2 separate regions of the Homo sapiens genome follow, and region 2 is linked to region 1. Evidence: promoter capture Hi-C in human tissues and cell types (Jung and others, 2019). All regions are on one chromosome and are shown on one strand. Each heading gives the region's core, a stretch centred on a gene start or on the middle of the fragment in contact. The rest is flanking DNA. Distances are from core to core; before and after follow the strand shown. Region 1 holds the start of TNFRSF1B (TNF receptor superfamily member 1B). Region 2 overlaps VPS13D (vacuolar protein sorting 13 homolog D).

Region 1 (5,781 bases), core at 1,148-3,647:
AGTTGCTGTAAGGGAGGTTTCAGTGAAATTTTGTGACAAAGTACCTAGCCCAGTGCCTGGTGTTTAGTGGGTGTTCAGAAATCAGGAGCTATGGCGATGCTACTGATGAGAAGGAAGAGGAACCCACAGTTCTGGCCCTGAAGACACCTTCCATCCACTGAGGGGGATAAAACACAGCTAGATTAAAAAGCAGAATGCAATCTGTCCTCAAAGGGAACAAAAGGGCCTGGGAGTTCGAAGAGAAGATCAAATCCAACTGAGAATGCGGAAAGGCTTTCCTGGAGAGAATGGCATTTGCAGAAGGCCTTGAAGGATAGGGGTAAGAAGTGTCCCTTGGAGAGGGGATGGCACGGACAATGCTTTTTGCACAATGACACACACGATGACCATCATCAGTTCTACAGAGGCGGGGGAGCACATGTGCAGGGAGGCGCGAGGAAGAGTTCAGGTACCTTACTCTGGCCTGGGATCTCCAGGGGAGTTTCTGCCTCAACCATTGGGAGCCACAGGAGGCTCCCCAGGCAAACAGAGAGGTGCCTCATGCTTGAGAAGGGTCTCTCTGCCAAGGATCAGCGGGAGAGGGGGCAGGGCCGGGAGACCAGCTACAAGGCTGCGGCAATAGTCCGGGTGGGGTCGTGGGGAGCAGGGATGAGGGAGGAGGGAATATGAGCTGCCGCAGGAGCTGGTCAGGAAGGGAAGGAAGTGGGAGGGAACCTCCTCCAGCTACTCCAGGACTGCAGCCTGGTGTCCTGCTGAGCCCTGTGCCTGACACCCCTCTCCCATCCAGGGGCTCACATGACCCCAGAGTTCACCCAGGCAGGCCCAAGCTCAGCGGCAGGAAGACCCCCTCTGAGGCCAGAGTATATGGCATGACCCCAAAGTCAAGCTGGGGACCACGGTCGTCCCCATTCACACTCGGCCCTAGAGTGGGGACTCTCCTGACCCAAAGGCCACCCAGGACTTACTCTGGGGCAGTTCTCCAGGACCCACTCCTGACACCCACTGTCGGTGAGTCAATTCTAGTCTGACAGCCCCCATCTTCCACCCACAAGAACTGGACTCTCTGGCCTCAGATCAACAAGTCACCTTATGTCACCACAGAAGCCAGTGCCACCTCCCACCTTCCTCCTCGGTCAAGATGTCAGATGGGGGCAGATGGGCCATGTGTCCATCAGGGGCGGCTCTGAGGAAGGATGAACGCCCACCTTCCCCGCAGCCTCAGGGCACAGGGGCCGAAGGCAGGAGAGGCCCCCTTTGGAGGAAGAGTTCCCCCCAGACCCTTCCATGAAATACAAGTTCTCTGAGCCTCAGTTTTCCTTCTCTAAAAAATGGTTTATCTTATCTTACCAAACCATGGAGACAGTAAAACAAAAATGGGGTTATCCTATGTTACCAGACCAGGAGACAGTCAAAAACAGGCAAAGGGTGCACAGTCCCTTGTACGCCCGTTGCTACTGTGGGAGTGACGTTCATATTGAATAGGAGCCCTAGGGTTTCTGCTGTCTCCATTTTCCTGCGGCCCCCGGAGACTTCATTTGCCTTGCTCGATTACCAGCCCAGACCTCCCTCGCTTGCCCTGTCCCCAGAGGCCGCAGAAAACAGACTCTGCAGTAGCCCCCGGACGCATCGGAGGAAGCAGACAGGCAGCTCGCCCTCCAGCTGTGCCCTCAGTGGACCTGACACACACCTGGTCCTGCTCTTCAGACACAGGACCCTGGTATTTCTAAGAAATCGGAAAACCGTCGCCCAGAGGAAAAGGAAGTCTTTTGAAGAGGGTGCCCGGCGTGGGCAGTGGGGCAGCGCCCCGGCACAGCCCCTTCTCCACCGCGTGGGAGGGAAGGGCTGTCGCGGCAGTCGCCGGGGTGAGGGAAGAGGGGTCCCGGGTCTAGCGGGGGTCTGCCCAGGACCCGCTGCTCAGCCCCAAATGCCCCGGCCTGCGCTCGCGGAGGAACCAGGGTGCGCCCCTGTCACGACGCGGGTAAGAGGGGCTTCGGGGGCCAGAGTTGTGCCCCGAGCGCACGTGTGCCGGGCCCGGAGTCCCCAGCGGGTCCCCAGAGGCGCGCGTGTCTGATGCGGATGGGGGGCGGCGACTGGGACTCCCAGCCTCCCAGCCCGTGACAGCGCCCCGGGAGAGCGCGGCCCGGGCACCCGAAGGCTGCGCACCAGCCGGGTGGACATGCGGGGCGGCTGTCCCCCGTGGGCCGCGCGAGTCACCCACCTGGGCGGGCAAGGCGTGCGCCGCAGCCCAGAGCTCCAGTCCGACGGCCAGCGCGGCCCAGACGGCGACGGGCGCCATGGGTGCGGGCGGGGTCCGGTTGCCCCCTGCCCTCGCGCCCTCGCGCCCTCGCAGCCCAGCGCCTTCTCTCCAGGCTCCGCTGCGCTCGCTAGCCCTCGACTGAAAGCGAAAGCCCGCGCCCCAGCGGGCCAGAGGCCAGGCGGCGGGGCGGGGCGGGGCCAGCCGGCCTTGGACACGCCTCCCCCACGCCCCTCCCCAGACGCTGCTGGGCCTCCGACCCGACCACTCCAGCATCGCTGGGCCGATACCTCCAGCGTCACTCCCAGCACTCGGGTGACCCCTCAACCTCCTCCTATCGTCCCCTCCTCTTCGAATCACCATCTCCACCTGCCCGGCCTCCACCTGCCCGGCCTCCACCTGCCCTCCCAGCTCCCACAGGCTTCCCTGTCCCGTGAGGGTGAGGCACTAATTTGGAAAAACATCCCCCAAAGCTGACAGCTGCTTTAGGGGAACCAAGAGAATTCTAGATCATTCACTTATTTAGACTCTATTTTAAATATATTTAATTCTTATTTTTTAATTTTTTTTGAGACAAGGTCTCACTCTTTCACCCATAGCTCACTGCAGCCTCCAACTCCTGCGCTCAAGCGATCCTCCCACCTCAGCCTCCCGAGTAGCTGGGACTACAGGCTCGGGCCACCATGCTAGGCTGATTTCTTTATAGAGATGGGGTTTCGCCATGTTGTCCAGGCTGGTCTCGAACTCCTGAGCTCACGTGTTCTTCCCACCCTCAAGTGATCTTCCCGCCTCTGGCCTCCCAAGGTGCTGGGATTATAGGTGTGAGCCACTGCACTCGGCCTGTTTAGACTCTAGAGCCAGACCACCTGGGTCTGGATCTCTGAACTGACCTCATAGGACTATTCTAAAAATTTAAAGATATGTAATATACATAATGCAGTCTGTACTTTATATATACTTAAGTAAGTATCTACATATATAACAATAGGCATTTATAAATCTTGGCTGTTGTTACTACTCTTCGCGTGTTCATTTATCCTTAAACACGCATCCAGCCTTCTCACAGGGAGAAGACTCTGCACTTCCCTGCTCAAGTCTCCTGCCCAGGCAGGGGGCAGATGAACAGAGGCTGGGAGAGAATGTCACCAGGGAAGCTGCAGGGCCCTGAGGGGCTGCTGAGACCAGGCCCAGGAGAGCTGGCTTCCCCAGGATTTACATCATGACCGAGCACCCATTCCAGCTGCAATCTGTCCCCCCATCCCCACTTTGAGTGCCAGCCCTAATACAGGGCCAGCCCTGCGGGGCCAGAGCACATTCCTCCAGCCCTGGATTACGGGGGTCCTAGCCCCCAGCACATAGGGCATTTCTAAGGGTTGGGGTGGGCTGGGTGGCAGGAGGCTATTCTGTTCCCTGTTTCCTCACTGCAGGCTGCCTGAAGAGGTACAGAGACCCTTGCTCCCGGCCACCAGCCCCACAGTGGAGCCTGCAAGGATGGTGCTTCTAGGTGCTGAGTGCTGAGTGAGAAACTGGGAAGTGACTCCCTGGGGATGGAAAACCCCACCTCCTGACCAGGAGGCTGGGAAATCACCTGGTTTCCACATGTTTCTGTGACATGGACCACGCTGAGGGTGTGGCTGGTATGACCCACAGCCTTAACTCTGCAGAGCCGCTGGACAGACATGCAGAGCTCTTCTGGCCCTTATGAGAATGCCTAGGAGCAGCTCCAAGGACTCCTTGATCCCTAAAATAGAGCTGAAGGCAGGAGGGAGATGTCACCTCGTGGAAGCAGGGGACAATAGTTCTCTCTAGTTGTCCCCCACACACCTCAAGACCAATGGGACCAACAGACTGTCTGCACCCCCAACCCTCAACAACCGGCTCCTCCTGCCAGTTTCCCTATCCCAGTGAATGGCACCATCACCTCCTGAAGGTGGGGATCCTCCCAGGCTTAGGTCCCATCCTGGGAACGAATTCAAGCTTAATCTCTATGCAACATGGGGCTTCTCCCCTTCTCCAGGCCGACCCAGGCTTGAGAGCAGGCGACTTCTCTCTGAACTCTGCCAAGTGCAGTTCTTGACTCCAGGGTCAGGCCCAGGGGTGAGGGTTTGGGAAGGAAAGGGCACAGTGTTCCATGGCAGCCAAAGTTGTCACCCATCTGGCACTGGGGACTTTGGGGACAGTTTCCAGCTCATTCTCTCTGGGGCTCTAGTGCAGGTTTCTTGGAGACCTTCTTACTGACTCCACTGGCCACAGCTCCCCAGCACCTGAAATGCCTGCACCTCCTGCTGGCCACAATTCACCACCTCCCCTTCAGCTCCTACAGGATGGTGTCCTCCTGGCTTCTCCTGCTGAGGCCGCCTTACCTACTAGGAAGCACTTTGGGATGGAGATGGTCAGGCTGGCCTCCTCGCTGGGGTCCATGGTTGCCTGCCCTTTGCTGCGCACCAATAGCAGCCCAGCTAACTCTCCGTGCACCCTGGCTCACTCCAGCAATGCTGGCTCAGGTCCATCCAGCCACAGGCTCCTTTATTAAGCACCTACTGTGTGCCAGCCCTGGAGTGCTGGGGACTCAGCAGTGGACAAAATAGACAAGAATCTTCCACCTGTGTTATGGTCCTTAAACTCCTGGGATATGAAGCCCCCAGATGGCTCCCTCGTATCCCCTCCTGCTTGGCCCAAGGTAAGAGGAAGTGCCCTCTCCGCTCCAAAGGGCAGCAGGGGGCACTCAGCCCAATGGTGACTCCTTCCCCAAAATCCTCTCTCTTGGCTTCTCCAACCCCACATCTTATTTAGGCTGGAGGTGGCGATGGCCAGTTCTGGCTGAACCAGTTTGTCTCTCCACATGACCTGCACACGTGGTCCGGGACTTTTTCTTCAGTGTGGGTGGGGGGGGGATTGATCTTGACACTCACCATATTGTACCTGCCACTGGGGAATATGGTAAAACTCAGGGACAGCAGAGGCAGTGTGGAGGGCCTGGACTCTCTCCTTCTGCCCCACAGCCCAGCCCTGGCTCTATCTCCCACCCATGATGCTCTGGGCCTCCCGATGAGGCTCTGGCCTTCAGGCTCTGTCCCCGAATCTGCCTTTCCGTGGAGTGGTCAGGCCCAGCCCTGCAAAGCATTAGCCACTCATGCCACTCTCCTAGCCCAGGATTTCTCAACCCAGAGGTCATTTTACCCCCTCTCCCTCCCCAGCACATTTGGCAATGTCTGGAGACATTTTGGGTGGTCGCAGCTGCAGGGGGCAGGGAGAGGTGCTGCTGGCATCTCACAGGTAGAGGCCAGGATTCTGCCAAACATCCCACAACGCTCAGGACAGCCTCATCCACAGAGAATTATCCAGCCCAAAACGTCCAGAACGCCAAGGTTGAGAAGCAACCTAGCCCATGGCTCTCCATGGCCTTTAGAACTGATTTCAGCCTCCTCCACAAGACACTGGAGGCCTTCATGTCCTGGCCCAGCTGGCCCACCAGGCAGAGCCCCACCACGAACCCCAGCTCTACAGGCCAACTCCCTGGGCATTCG
Region 2 (5,781 bases), core at 1,201-3,700, 110 kb before region 1:
TGAAAAAGGCTGACAAGACGGATTCCCCATGACAAAAGGATTCCACAATTATTGGAACAAGGTTTCAACAATGGTATTATGCATGGGTGATATATCTTTGAAAATATATATTCCTTCCAACATGTAATATACATAAATATATATCATATTTATAGAGTACTAATATAAACATATGACTTCAACTGCCCTGACATGAATTTACCTGAACTGGATTGACAAATTTTCCTTCAATCTTCATGATGCTAGAAGTTCCCAGGTCATCTGGGCTAAGAGAAAAAGTCAATTCAGATTCTCTCTCTATAGGGATCTTCTCCAGTTTAAACTGAATGGTGGTGTTGTTCAGGATGTGAAAAGCTGGCATAAAAGAGATGAAATGATAGACCATAAACCTTAATATTTACTTCATTACTGCTGATTAAACGTAGAATATACAAAATACAGCCCATGAGTTACACTTAGACCAGGAGGGCAGGTTAGCCTGGCACCCGGGGTCTATGATTGAGAGCAAACCTTGACAGCTATCCTGAGGCCAAAACTCATAGCAAGCTGAGGTACAAGATACATTTACACAAAAAAAGAAACAATATTTTCATCACATGCTCCACTTGGTAGCTTCAAAGCACGATGTGGTGAACATTATTCCAGTCCAGAGACTACATTATGCTTCTCTGAGCCACCCAAGCTGGCATTTTCCAAACCGAATTATTCATCCTTACCTAGCTTTCAGATACAGATGTATCCCTCTTATTAGGCCTAAATCAGAATCTAGGACAATACAAGTTCTAAGTAAACAACTTTTATCCAAGCAGAGAAAGCTATCTTTTGATAAGTATAAAAACAAATCAGTGAATTAACATCTGATGACCACAGAAGGGTAAGTTCTCAAAGGCATTAATTTCATCACCAATAAATAAAGGCGTGCTCTAGGACTTACCTGATCTCTGCGTGCCAAGACCAACAGATTGGACTGTTTGGTTTTAGCTGATCAGATCCAGAATACAAACATAAGCTTTTATTCTTAGAACCTTGGACCAACCCATTATAGAAGAAGATGGCAGAATATTAAAGAAGATAATATCCACAAACTATTTACATCAACCCCTTGAGGCATCTTGGGCTAAAATGTTTAACTAGGAAGGATCGACAGCTTGGGAACAGAAAATCAGATATATTTGACCAAATTAAACAATACTTTAACAACATCCATCCACTGAAGCATCTCTGTAAATGAGCACTCATACAGTTTCAAGCTGGAACACTTCAAAAAAATAAATTCCTGCCTGGGCGCGGCTGGTCACACTTGTAATCCCAACACTTTGGGAGGCCGAGGCAGGCAGATCACCTGAGGTCACGAGTTCGAGACCAGCCTGGCCAACATGGTGAAACCCTGTCTCTACTAAAAATACAAAAATTAGCCGGGCGTGGTAGCGGGTGCCTGTAAGTAATCCCAGCTACTTGGGAGGCTGAGCCAGGAGAATCACTTGAACCTGGGAGGTAGAGGTTGCAGTGAGCTGAGACTGCATCATTGCACTCCAGCCTGGGCAACAAGAGCAAAACTCCGTCTCAAAAAACCAAAAAAATAAAAATAAAAGTAAGTAAATTCCTGTTTTGTCAAATATGACATTAAATGGAAAAGGGTGAAAACATGCCAACCTACTACAAGGCATTCTATTAAAACTCTTTGATTTCTTAAATATTAACTGAGGATTATTCTAAAAGAAAAGGATTTTATTGTTGCTGTTTTACGCAAAGGACTCCGTGAGCTGGGTTTTCAATCATTAAACAAAATAGAACAAAAGACTGATGCTCCTCACCTTGACCTCTATGCAAAGATTCAAAGAAATCATGTCGTGTGAAATGAGCTTCCTCCTGACTGTTGGCACTGCCAGACCCGGAAGGTGGGCAAAACATCCGGCTTCCTTCAGACCCAACAGCTTCTCTACCTGCCAACTGGGTGCAATTCAAAGAATACAGTTTAATGTCCTTGATTTCCACCTGCAGACGGTCACTTCTGGATTCATCATCTCCCGCCACAAAATTCTGGATGAATATCTGTCCCAAGTGTCCCACCAACAACTCAGGACTCCCCGGCTTCCGAGGGATAGAAACAACTGGTGATTCAATGTTTATGTTCAAGATTAGCTTTACAGTGTCCAAATGAGACGAAGCTAGGTCAAACCCATATATTTCATTTTCCTCTAAGATAAAGGGTTCCCGAGTCTTCCTTGGAGTTTCAAAGAGCGATACCATCTCGCTATACTCGGCAGTCTTGGTAGCTAGTACTGTGGTGACTTTGGTGGCTGCGCTTTTCAGCATACCTCGAAAATTTTCTTCCAGTTCATCCATGGATAACGTCAACTCCTTCAAAAACTTAGCAGAGTGGTTATAATGTAAAGAAGCCATCTTCAGGTTGAGAAAACACTCCTGTTTAGATCTCTCAACAAACGTGAAACTCAAAGCTTCAGTGAGGGCTGCATCTTCCATTCTGACAAACACAGATTCAAAGTAGCCAATATCACTGATGATATTTTCATAGCCTACAGAATTCCCAATGCTGACAACATACTGGTTTTTAACGTTATCTTGTGTCAAATCCATAAGCTGTAAACAGCCAAGAGAACCATTCATGTCAAACGTGCTACCCATTGAGACATTAACTTTGGTGCCACCTATACTTGCAGTTGCAATTTTTCTGCCATATTTCTCTCTATTTGCCATGCCCACTGTCCGAAGAAGCAGTAAGTTCAGCCTATGGATTTCCACTGCAACCTCAGTGTTTTGTTCATATGTAGACTGGTAAGTTCCTTGTTCTCTGAAGCTTCTTTCAAAATCAGTCATTAAAGGTTGAGGACTTAAATCATCTTTTTCCTTGGGAAAGGATTTTTGAAGAAAACCAATTAGCTCCACAATCGTCTCTGGATTGAGGATAATATCTAAATTATTCACCTGTAGGGAAATCACCTGAAGAGTACTGTCTAAATTCATCGATGGGCACTCTGAACTCACAAACTGATATTCCAACTTAATAAGGGACTCTTGCTCTTTGGTAAGAATTTTGTCAAGTGAAACACTAGTAGCTGATCGGTCGTTCAGTGTAGCTCCATCAGTTAAGTGGGCCACATTCGGTCCAGAGACAGGAGACTGGGCCCTGCTATCCCGAAGGCTTCCCGTTGGAATATCAAAGCTCAAGTTCTTATGTGAAGCCATCAAAAGGTCAAAATCAGCACCATATGTCTGCATGGTATCCACCAGGAGCAAACCATGAACAGTTAGGGAGACTTCAGCATCATAAGGCCTCTTCACAAAGTGAGCATTGGTACCAAACACCTTGAGCACAGAAATGTACCGGCCATTGCTCTCAACACCAAGCTGCATACAGTTCACTTTAAATTCCGCCAGGAGGAGCTGCGACTCCACCAGAACCTCGCGGGTATGCTGCTCCAACAACACAATGCTCTGGGTTAAATTCATTACGGAGTCTTGCAAACTTCCCCGCTGCTCCTCCTGGGGAAAAATCTTTTCTTTAATCTGAGTGTCAGAAGTTTTCATTTCTGGGGTGGTGAGGAGAGCAAAGCAATTCTTTAGTGCAGATATTTTATCTTCATTAATGTGGATTTTTAAGTCTGGTAAGTTGCCTGAGAGCACGGCTCCTGGATATTTGGGATCTGAAGTATAAATCAATCGACGCTCTAACTGTAGGTGAACGTTGAACTTCTCTACCACATGTGTTGGTCCCACGTCAATATCCTGGACATGCTTCCAATTGTCTTTCACTCGTCCAACCATGATCTGGAGGTCCATAAATGACAGCGAGTACCTCTCATACATCTTTGTGCTCATTAAATGTGCTTGAAGCTGTTCTTCACTGAACTCAACTCCAGAAAAGGGAGGTGTTTTCTCTCCGTTGCTGCTGCTTGACTCGGGAGGTGGGGTGTTAGGAGGTGTGGCCAGGGGGGTCTTATATTCATCATCACTAAACTGGGTCTCTTCAGATGCTGACCCATCCCTACTTTTCCTCCTGGAGTTATCTGAAGATAAAAAAAAGAAGATTCAAATATATGTCTGCTATTTCCCTCCTCTTTCCCTTAATGTAATAATTATGAAAGGTAGAGAATCAACCAACCCCAGTTTGTTTAAGAAAACTGAGGAAAACTCTTAAGCATAATATCTTTGTTTACCATTTTCTAAGTGTGAATTTACCTATAAATTTGGAAATCAAAACACAAATATAAAAAAGTATGGACACGAAAAAAGCTGGAGGCCCCCTGACATGAGCGCCACCTGCTGACCCAATGCTGCCTCCCCACTTCTCCCCTGCCTTGCCATGGGCGTGAGCTGCTTTCACCAACCCTTTCTTACGTCCCTCTCTAGAGTCTTTTATTTCTTTTCCTTTTTCTGTGTGTTCATTTGTTTCCCCCACTGGAATGTTCTTTTATTTCAGGTGAAGTCTCACTCTGTCACCCAGGCTGGAGTGCAATGGCACGATCTCAGTTCACTGCAACCTCTGCCTCTCAGGTTTAAGCGATTCTACTGTCTCGGCCTCCCAAGCAGCTGGGATTACAGGCATGTACCACCATGCCCGGCTAATTTTTTGTATTTTTTACATTTTTATTTATTTATTTTTATTTATTTTTGAGATGGAGTCTCATTCTGTCACCCAGGCTGGAGTGCAGTGGCATGATCTTGGCTCACTACAACCTCCACCTCCCAGGTTCAAGAGATTCTCCTGCCTCAGCCTCCCGGACAGCTGGGATTACATGTGCCTGCTACCATGACTGGCTAATTTTTGTACTTTTAGTAGACACAGGGTTTCACCATGTTGGCCAGACTGGTCTCGAACTCCTGACCTCAGGTGATCCACCCACCTCAGCCTCCCTAAGTGCTGGGATTACAGGCGTGAGCCACCGCACCTGGCCAATTTTTTGTATTTTAATAGAGACAGGGTTTCACCATGTTGGCCAGGCTGGCCTCGAACTCCTGACCTCATGTAATCCACCCACCTCAGCCTCCCAAAGTGCTGGGTATTACAGGCATGAGCCACCACGGCCCAGCATCCACTGGAATGTTCTGAGAGAAGAGAGGTCTCATCTTTCTTGGTCAACACAGTCTTCCTAGTGCCGAGGTAGTGCTTGGTGAGCGGTAACTGATCAATATGCAATTGTGTGGCCCCAGAGTCCACAATCAGCTCCTCTTTCTCCAGCTGAGCAGTGCGCCAAGACAACTATAAAAATACACCACTGGGGCTGGGCATCGTGGCTCACACCTGCAATCCCAGCACTTTGGGAGACTAAGACAGGCAGATTGCTTGAGGTTAGGAGTTCGAGACCTGCCTGGCCAACATGGCGAAACCCCATCTCTACTAAAAATACAAAAATTGGCCGGGCGTGGTGGCTCACACCTGTAATCCCAGCACTTTGGGTCGCCAAGACAGGTAGATCACTTTGAGGTTAGGAGTTCAAAACCAGCCTGGCCAACATGGCGAAACCCTGTCTCTACTAAAAATACAAAAAATTGGCCAGGTGCGGTGGCTCACGCCTATAATCCCAGCACTTTGGGAGGCCAAGGTGGGCGGATCACCTGAGGCCAGGAGTTGAGACCAGACTGGCCAACGTGGAGAAACCCCATCCCTACTAAAGATACAAAAATTAGCTGGGCATAGTGGTGGGCACCTGTAATTCCAGCTACTCAGGAGGCTGAGGCAGGAGAATTGCTTGAACCTGGGAGGCAGAGGTTGCAGTGACCTGAGATGGCGCCACCACACTCCAGCCTGGGCGACAGAGT

What was found. Contacts are between HindIII fragments. The study calls those that stand out against the background at their distance.
Region 2: a contact is called between a fragment that was not itself captured here and the fragment with the promoter of TNFRSF1B in region 1, in 5 of the 25 tissues and cell types used here (H1 embryonic stem cells, heart right ventricle, mesendoderm cells and 2 more).

Annotation. Positions count from the first base shown.
Region 1 is chr1:12,163,607-12,169,387 of GRCh38, reverse strand. TNFRSF1B (TNF receptor superfamily member 1B) reads right to left here and starts at 2,397. Exons shown (of 10, transcript NM_001066.3): 1 at 2,219-2,397. The coding sequence starts at 2,296. MIR7846 (microRNA 7846) reads right to left here and starts at 2,445; the gene lies at 2,350-2,445. RefSeq lists enhancers at 1,330-1,971, 5,778-5,781 and silencers at 2,012-2,241, 2,252-2,561. The HindIII fragment of the contact is 11,494 bases long and covers 1-5,165 here.
Region 2 is chr1:12,274,072-12,279,852 of GRCh38, reverse strand. VPS13D (vacuolar protein sorting 13 homolog D) reads right to left here. Exons shown (of 70, transcript NM_015378.4): 19 at 1,815-4,028; 20 at 203-354. Among named protein-coding and RNA genes, the nearest start is that of VPS13D, 47 kb to the right of the region's middle. The HindIII fragment of the contact is 4,428 bases long and covers 237-4,664 here.